Regions from separate parts of the Homo sapiens genome. Here region 1 is linked to region 2. Evidence: promoter capture Hi-C in human tissues and cell types (Jung and others, 2019). All regions are on one chromosome and are shown on one strand. The core of a region is centred on a gene start or on the middle of the fragment in contact, and the rest is flanking DNA. Distances in the headings are between cores, read along the strand shown.

What was found. Contacts are between HindIII fragments. The study calls those that stand out against the background at their distance.
Region 1: a fragment that was not itself captured here is called in contact with the fragment with the promoter of EMC4 in region 2 in 1 of the 25 tissues and cell types used here (stomach).

What each region holds. Positions count from the first base shown.
Region 1 is chr15:34,167,775-34,171,980 of GRCh38, reverse strand. The region is part of intron 1 of KATNBL1 (katanin regulatory subunit B1 like 1); the gene reads left to right. Among named protein-coding and RNA genes, the nearest start is that of KATNBL1, 40 kb to the left of the region's middle. The HindIII fragment of the contact is 5,274 bases long and covers 1-4,206 here.
Region 2 is chr15:34,223,460-34,227,536 of GRCh38, reverse strand. EMC4 (ER membrane protein complex subunit 4) reads right to left here and starts at 2,521. Exons shown (of 5, transcript NM_016454.4): 1 at 2,337-2,521; 2 at 1,887-2,001. The coding sequence starts at 2,422. RefSeq lists an enhancer at 2,158-2,207. The HindIII fragment of the contact is 15,250 bases long and covers 1-3,981 here.

The DNA of each region.
Region 1 (4,206 bases), core at 1,075-3,574, 55 kb after region 2:
ACATTAGGTATTTCTAATGCTGTCCCTCCCCCACCCCCCACCCCATGACAGGCCCTGGTGTGTGATGTTCCCCGCCCTGTGTCCAAGTGTTCTCATTGTTCAGTTCCCACCTGTGAGTGAGAACATATGGTGTTTGGTTTTCTGCCCTTGTGATAGTTTGCTGAAAATGATCGTTTCCAGCTTCATTCATATCCCTGTTAAGGACGTGAACTCATCCTTTTTTATGGCTGCGTAGTATTCCATGATATATATGTGCCACATTTTCTTAATCCAGTTTATCATTGATGGACATTTGCGTTGGTTCCAAGTCTTTGCTACTGTGAATAGTGCTGCAATAAACATACATGTTCATGTGTCTTTATAGTAGCATGATTTATAATCCTTTGGGTATATACCCAGTAATGGGATCACTGGGCCAAATGGTATTTCTAGTTCTAGATCCTTGAGGAATCACCACACTGTCTTCCACAATGGTTGAACCAATTTACATTCCCACCAACAGTGTAAAAGTGTTCTTGTTTCTCCACATCCTCTCCAGCATCTGTTGTTGCCTGACTTTTTAATGATCACCATTCTAACTGGCATGAGACGGTATCTCATTGTGGTTTTGATTTGCATTTCTCTGATGACCAGTGATGATGAGCATTTTTTCATATGTCTGTTGGCTGCATAAATGTCTTCTTTTGAGATGTGTCTGTTCATATCCTTTGCCCACGTTTTGATTGGGTTGTTTGTTTTTTTCTTGACAATTTGTTTAAGTTCTTTGTAGATTTTGGATATTAGCCCTTTGTCAGATGGGTAGATTGCAAAAATTTTCTCCCGTTCTATAGGCTGCCTGTTCACTCTGATGGTAGTTTCTTTTGCTGTGCAGAAGCTCTTTAGTTTAATTAGATCCCATTTGTCTATTTTGGCTTTTGTTGCCATTGCTTTTGGTGTTTTAGTCATGAAGTCCTTGCCGATGTCTGTGTCCTGAATGGTATTGTCTAGGTTTTCTTCTAGGGTTTTTATGATTTGGCATCTAAGATTTAAGTCTTTAATCCATCTTGAATTAATTGTTGTATAAGGTGTAAGGAAGGGATCCAGTTTCAGCTTTCTACATATGGCTAGCCAGTTTTCCCAGCACCGTTTATGAAATAGGGAATCCTTTCCCCATTGCTTGTTGTCAGGTTTGTCAAAGATCAGATGGTTGTAGATGTGTGGTGTTATTTCTGAGGTCTCTGTTCTGTTCCATTGGTCTATATATCTGTTTTGGTACCAGTACCATGCTGTTTTCGTTACTGTAGCCTTGTAGTATAGTTTGAAGTCAGGTAGCATGATGCCTCCAGCTTTGTTCTTTTTGCTTAGGATTGTCTTGGCAATGCAGGCTCTTTTTTGGTTCCATATGAACTTTAAAGTAGTTTTTTCCAATTCTTCCAAGAAAGTCATTGGTAGCTTGATGGGGATGACGTTGAATCTATAAATTACCTTGGGCAGTATGGCCATTTTCACGATATTGATTCTTCCTATCCATGAGCATGGAATGTTCTTCCATTTGTTTGTGTCCTCTTTCATTTCATTGAGCAGTGGTTTGTAGTTCTCCTTGAAGAGGTCCTTCACATCCCTTGTAAGTTGGATTCCTAGGTATTTTATTCTCTTTGTAGCAATTGTGAATGGGAGTTCACTCATGATTTGGCTCTGTTTGTCTGTTATTGGTATATAGGAATGCTTTTGATTTTTGCACATTGATTTTGTGTCCTGAGACTTTGCTGAAGTTGCCTATCAGCTTAAGGAGATTTTGGGCTGAGATGATGGGGTTTTCTAAATATACAATCATGTCATCTGCAAACAGGGACAATTTGACTTCCTCTTTTCCTAATTGAATACCCTTTATTTCTTTCTCTTGCCTGATTGCCCTGGCCAGAACTTCCAACACTGTGTTGAATAGGAGTGGTGAGAGAGGGCATCCGTGTCTTGTGCCAGTTTTCAAAGGGAATGCTTCCAGTTTTTGCCCATTCAGTATGAGATTGGCTGTGGGATTGTCATAAATAGCTCTTATTATTTTGAGATATGATTCTTCAGTACCTAGTTTATTGAGAGTTTTTAGCATGAAGGGCTGTTGAATGTTGTCAAAGGCCTTTTCTGCATCTATTGAGATAATCATGTGGTTTTTGTTGTTGGTTCTGTTTATGCGATGGATTACGTTTACTGATTTGCATCTGTTGAACCAGCCTTGCATCCCAGGGATGAAGCCGACTTGATCGTGGTGGATAAGGTTTTGATGTGCTGCTGGATTCGGTTTGCCAGTATTTTATTGAAGATTTTCGCATCAGTGTTCATCAGGGATATTGGTCTAAAATTCTCTTTTTTTGTTGTGTCTCTGCCAGGCTTTGGTATCAGGATGATGCTGGCCTCATAAAATGAGTTAGGGAGGATTCCCTCTTTTTCTATTGATGGAATAGTTTCAGAAGGAATGGTACCAGCTCCTCTTTGTGCTTCTGGTAGAATTCGGCTGTGAATCTGTTTGGTCCTGGACTTTTTTTGGTTGGTAGGCTATTAATTATTGCCTCAATTTCAGAGCCTGTTATTGGTCTATTCAGCAATTGAACTTCTTCCTGGTTTAGTCTTGGGAGGGTGTACGTATCCAGGAATTTATCCATTTCTTCTAGATTTTCTAGTTTATTTACATAGAGGTGTTTATAGTATTCTCTGATGGCAGTTTGTATTTCTGGGGCATCAGTGGTGATATCCCCTTTATCAATTTTTATTGCATCTATTTGATTCTTCTCTGTTTTCTTCTTTATTAGTCTTGCTAGCAGTCTATCAATTTTGCTGATCTTTTCAAAAAACCAGCTCCTGGATTCATTGATTTTTTTTGAAGGGTTTTTGTGTCTCTATCTCCTTCAGTTCTGCTCTGATCTTAGTTATTTCTTGCCTTCTGCTACCTTTTGAATTTGTTTGCTCTTGCTTCTCTAGTTCTTTTGATTGTGATTTTAGCATGTCGATTGTAGATCTTTCCTGCTTTCTCTTGGGGGCATTTAATGCCATAAATTTCCGGCTACACACTGCTTTAAATGTGTCCCAGAGATTCTGGTTCGTTGTGTCTTTGTTCTCATTGGTTTCAAAAAACATCTTTATTTCTGCCTTCTTTCATTATTTACCCAGTAGTCATTCAGGAGCAGGTTGTTCAGTTTCCAAGTAGTTGTATGGTTTTGAGTGAGTTTCTTAATCCTGAGGTCTAATTTGATTGCACTGTGGTCTGAGAGGCAGTTTGCTGTGATTTCTGTTCTTTTACATTTCCTGAGGAGTGCTTTACTTCCAACTATGTGGTCAATTTTGGAATAAGTGCGATGTGGTGCTGAGAAGAATGTATATTCTGTTGATTTGGGGTGAAGAGTTCTGTAGATGTCTGTTAGGTCAGCTTGGTGCAGAGCTGAGTTCAAATCCTGGGCATCCTTGTTAACCTTCTGTCTCACTGATCTGTCTAATATTGACAGTGGAGTGTTGAAGTTTCCCATTGTTATTGTGTGGGAGTCTAAGTCTCTTTGTAGGTCTCCAAGGACTTGCTTTATGAATCTGGGTGGTCCTGTATTGGGTGCATATATATTTAAGATAGTTAGCTCTTCTTGTTGAATTGATTCCTTTACCATTATATAATGGTCTTCTTTGTCTCTTTTGATCTTTGTTGGCTTAAAGTCTGTTTATAAGAGACCAGGACTGCAAACCCTGCTTTTTTTTTGCTTTCCATTTACTTGGAAGATCTTCCTCCATCCCTTTATTTTGAACCTGTGTGTATCTTTGCACGTGAGATGGGTCTCCTGAATACAGCACACCGATAGGTCTTGACTCTTTATCCAATTTGCCAGTCTGTATCTTTTAATTGGGGCATTTAGCCCATTTACATTTAAGGTTAATGCTGTTATGTATGAATTTGATCCTGTCATTATGATGCTAGCTAGTTATTTCACCTGTTAATTGATGCAGTTTCTTCATAGCATCGATGGTCTTTACAATTTGGCATATTTTTGCAGTGGCTGGTACTGGTTGTTCGTAACCATGTTTAGTGCTTCCTTCAGGAGCTCTTGTAAGGCAGGCTTGGTGGTGACAAAATCTCTTGGTATTTGCTTGTCTGTAAAGGATTTTATTTCTCCTTCACTTATGAAGCTTAGTTTGGCTGGATATGAAATTCTGGGTTGAAAATTCTTTTCTTTCAGAATGTTGAATATTGGC
Region 2 (4,077 bases), core at 1,272-3,771:
CCACAGGAAGGCTCTCCTACTCAAGATAAAGTATCCTTACCATCTGTTATGCCTTTCCCTATAGGTTTTCCAGATGTCATTTTTTTCTCCTGATTTTGGAAAAAAGATCTCCCTGCTTTTGTCCTGGTACTTATGTATCTATCAATGTCCTATCTACAACTGAAGAAATAGATAAATCCACATAATGGGAGATTAGCACACCTCAGTCAATAACTAATAGAACCATCGAACTAATTTAGTTCCAGAAATAATAGAATTAGCAGGCAAATCAAGACATAGAAGATTTGAATGACATTAACAAACTTAACCCAACTGACATGTAACACTGCACTCAACAATTGCAGAATTCACATTCTTTTCAAACAAGATATTCACAAAAACTGACCACTCGCTGAGCCATGAAGAAAATGTCAATCTCAAAGAATGCAAATTGTACAAAACATATTCTTTGACTACAATGATATTAAACTAGAAATAATTTTATAGTAACTAGAAAATCTCTTATGTTTGGGAATTAACAATGATACATGAAGAAATTATAATGGAAAATAGATTTATATGATAGCAAAAGTACCACATTTTAAAACTCGTGGGACACAGCTAGAGTTCTGAGAAATTTATAACCTTAAATACATACTACCAGGTTGCTGCAAAAGTAACTGCGGTTGTTGCCATTAAAAGTAATGGCAATGTGGCCGGGCGCGGTGCCTCACACCTGTAATCCCAGCACTTTGGGAGGCCGAGCTTGGTGGATCACCTGAGGTCAGGAGTTTCAGACCAGCCTGGCCAACGTGGTGAAACCCCGTCTCTACTAAAAATACAAAAAAATTAGCTGGACGTGGTGGTGGGTGCCTATAATCCCAGCTACTCGGGAGGCTGAGGCAGGAGAATTGCTTGACCCTGGGAGGCAGAGGTTGCAGTGAGCCAAGGTCGTGCTATTGCATTCCAGCCTCGGCGACAACAGCAAGACTGTCTCAAAAGAAAAGAAAAAAAGTAATGGCAGTCTAAAAATAAACTAAGCATCCATTTCAAGAAACTAGAAAAAAACCCAAGTATTTTTGAAAAGATTAATAAAATCAATACTGGTGATGGGTACAGTGACCTGTAAAAATAAATGAAAATAATTTTTAAAAAATCAATACTGGTGAGCCTGATGAAGAAAGGAGAGGAGACAAAATATTCAATATCAGGAATGAAAAAATGAACATCACAGATCTTGCATATATGGAAGTGATCATATTATGAACAACTTTATATCAATACATTTGAAATTTTAGGAAATGGATAAGTTTCTAGAAAAAATGTAACAAAATGACAGGAGAAATTAGAAATATAAATAGCCCCGGGCCGAGCGCGGTGGCTCATGCCTGCAATCCCAGCACTTTGGAAGGCCAAGGCGGATGGATCACCTGAGGTCAGGAGTTCAAGACCAGCCTGGCAAACATGGTGATACCCTGTCTGTACTAAAAATACAAAAATTAGCCGGGCTACTGCAGAAATCTAGATGAAGGATGGTGGCTTGGATTAGGATGAGAGGTGAACACAGGAAAAAGTAGTAGGTAAAGCCAACAGAGTATCCTGACAGTTGGATATGTGGTGTAAGGGAACCAGAGTAGAAAAAGGATCACTTCAACTGGAAGATGTTGCCACCAAAAGATAGTTTTCAACCTACTTTCTTATACCTTATGTTCCAAACATCTTCTATTTTTCAAATTATTAAGCACTTTTGTAGCTGATATATAAAATACCGAAATACCAGCCTCAAGCAGTTTAGTTTCCAAATCTTCAGGATAAGAGCTATCTACGTTAACTCCACCTAGGAGAAGAGGATGAGTGTGTAACTCAGGACTGGCCCATGGGCTACGGTAACATCTATACCTCTGTACCTTCTCCACCAGGATCCGGTCTGTCTCTTGCACGCTGGTATCAGGCACTTGCTTGTCCAAGTAACCGACTGGGTAGAGCGAGTCTCCCTGGCCACTGCCCCGGTCACTTCGACCCCTAAAAAACCAAACCAAGAAACTAAAGCTGCAACCTCCGATACTTCTTATCCCACATTTCCTGATCTACCAATCATAGGAATAAAGATCTTCAGATGCACCTACTCAGATTAGACCAAGCCCCCTCGTATGTTCCTCAGTCCTTTGACTTATCAGGAGGACTGATGTAAGCATTGTTTGAGCAGAGAAACTTCCACGGCAGAAAAGCCGCTACCTCCCCAGGTGATGTCTGTGTGCCACCCATCTTTTTCAGAGTTATGCCTGAGGGCTCAGGTCTCATTACTCTGGTGCAGTTCTGGGATGAACAGTGATGTACAGCTTGCCCAGGTGCCTCACCTGCTGCCTCCTCCAGGCCCGCTTAGCTCAATGGCCCACTTGAAGCGCCGGCCTCGGTTAGCCACCAGGCCCCCCTGGGCCGTCATGGCAACAGCTGCGTCCTATAGCCTCGATGCTTCTCAGTCCAAAGCGTACTCCACAACAGGCCCACCAGCGTTCTCCGCTTTGTCTCACTCTGCAAATGCACTTCCGGCGCGTGAATACGACGTCATTTCCGCCCTGGAAATTGGTGGTGCTGTGGGTTGAGGAGTCCGGGTTTGGATTTAGAAAAGCAGGGAGGAAAAAAAACCAGGCAAGACTTAGTGCTTCCTAAAGCCACTTCCGCGCGCTCCCCTTTTGAATGTCCTTGTTATGTGTTCCCTGACCTCTGAGGTGCACTTTATGGGGCTGAAGGAAAGCCCATACTGACTCAGCGTTAAGAATTGGTGGGCGGATCACCTGAAGTCAGGAGTTCGAGACCAGCCTGGCTAACATGGTGAAACCCCGTCTCTACTAAAAATACAAAATATTAGCCGGGCTTAGTGGCGGGCGCCTGTAATCCCAGCTACTTAGGAGGCTGAGGCAGGAGAATCGCTTGGATCCGGGAGCCGGAGGTTGCAGTGAACTGAGACCGAGCGATTGCACGCCAGCCTGGGCAGCAAGAGCGAAACTCTGTCTCAAAAAAAAAAAAAAGGAAGCCAAGAAAAGCTTCTTAACCTCCTACGCGCTCCCTGGAACAAAAGATTCAAATCCTGGGTTTAAATCCTAGCTTGACCTTGAGCGAGTTACTTAGTAGTTTCTGAGTATTGAATGTCCACTGTGTCATGTGTTTATTTCATTTCACTTGCACAGTAACCTTGCGAGGTAAACAGTTCTAACCACATTCTGCACAAAGGCAAGGCAGCATTGTGGGCATGGAAGGGGACATGGGCTCGGTATTCAGTTAGCCTGCGTTTGTTGTTGTTTGTTTTGGGTTTGTTTTTTGAGACAGGGTTTCACTCCGTTGCCGAGGCTGTAGTGCAGTGGCGCTATCACGGCTCACTGCAGCCTCGACTTCCCCGGCTCAAGCGATCTTCCCACCTGAGCGTTCCTTCCAACCTGAGCGTTCCGAGGAGCTAGGACCACAGGGCGCGCCACCACGCCCCAGTCTTGTTTTGTTTTGTTTTGTTTTGTTTTGACAGGGTTTCGCTATGTTGCTCAGGCTGCTCTCAAACTCTTGGGTTCAAGTGATTCTCCTGCCTTGGCCTCCCAAAATGTTGAGATTACAAAGGCATGGGCCACTGCACCCAGCAGATGGCCTCCTTTTGAATCCTGGTTTCACCACTTAATAATTGTATGACCTTGGGCAAGTTGAATTTGTTTCAGCCTCTTCATGTAAAAGTTGGATAATCTACCTACTTTCAAGGCTTGTGAGATTAGTGCCCACCACATATCTGGTGTTTGGTTTGTTTGTGTTTTTGTTCGAGACGGAGTTTTGCTTTTGTTGCCCAGGCTGGAGTGCAATGGCACTATCTCGGCTCACTGCAACCTCCGTCTCCCGGGTTCAAGCAATTCTCCTGCCTCAGCCTCCCGAGTACCAGGGATTACAGGCGCACGCCACCACGTCCAGCTAATTTTGTATTTTTAGTAGAGATGGGATTTCACCGTGTTGGTCAGGCTGGTTTCGAACTCCCGACCTCAGGTGATCTGCCTGCCTCGGCCTCCCAAAGTGCTAGGTTATGTGGTGTTTTTAATGATGTATCACATCATTACCAAATAACAC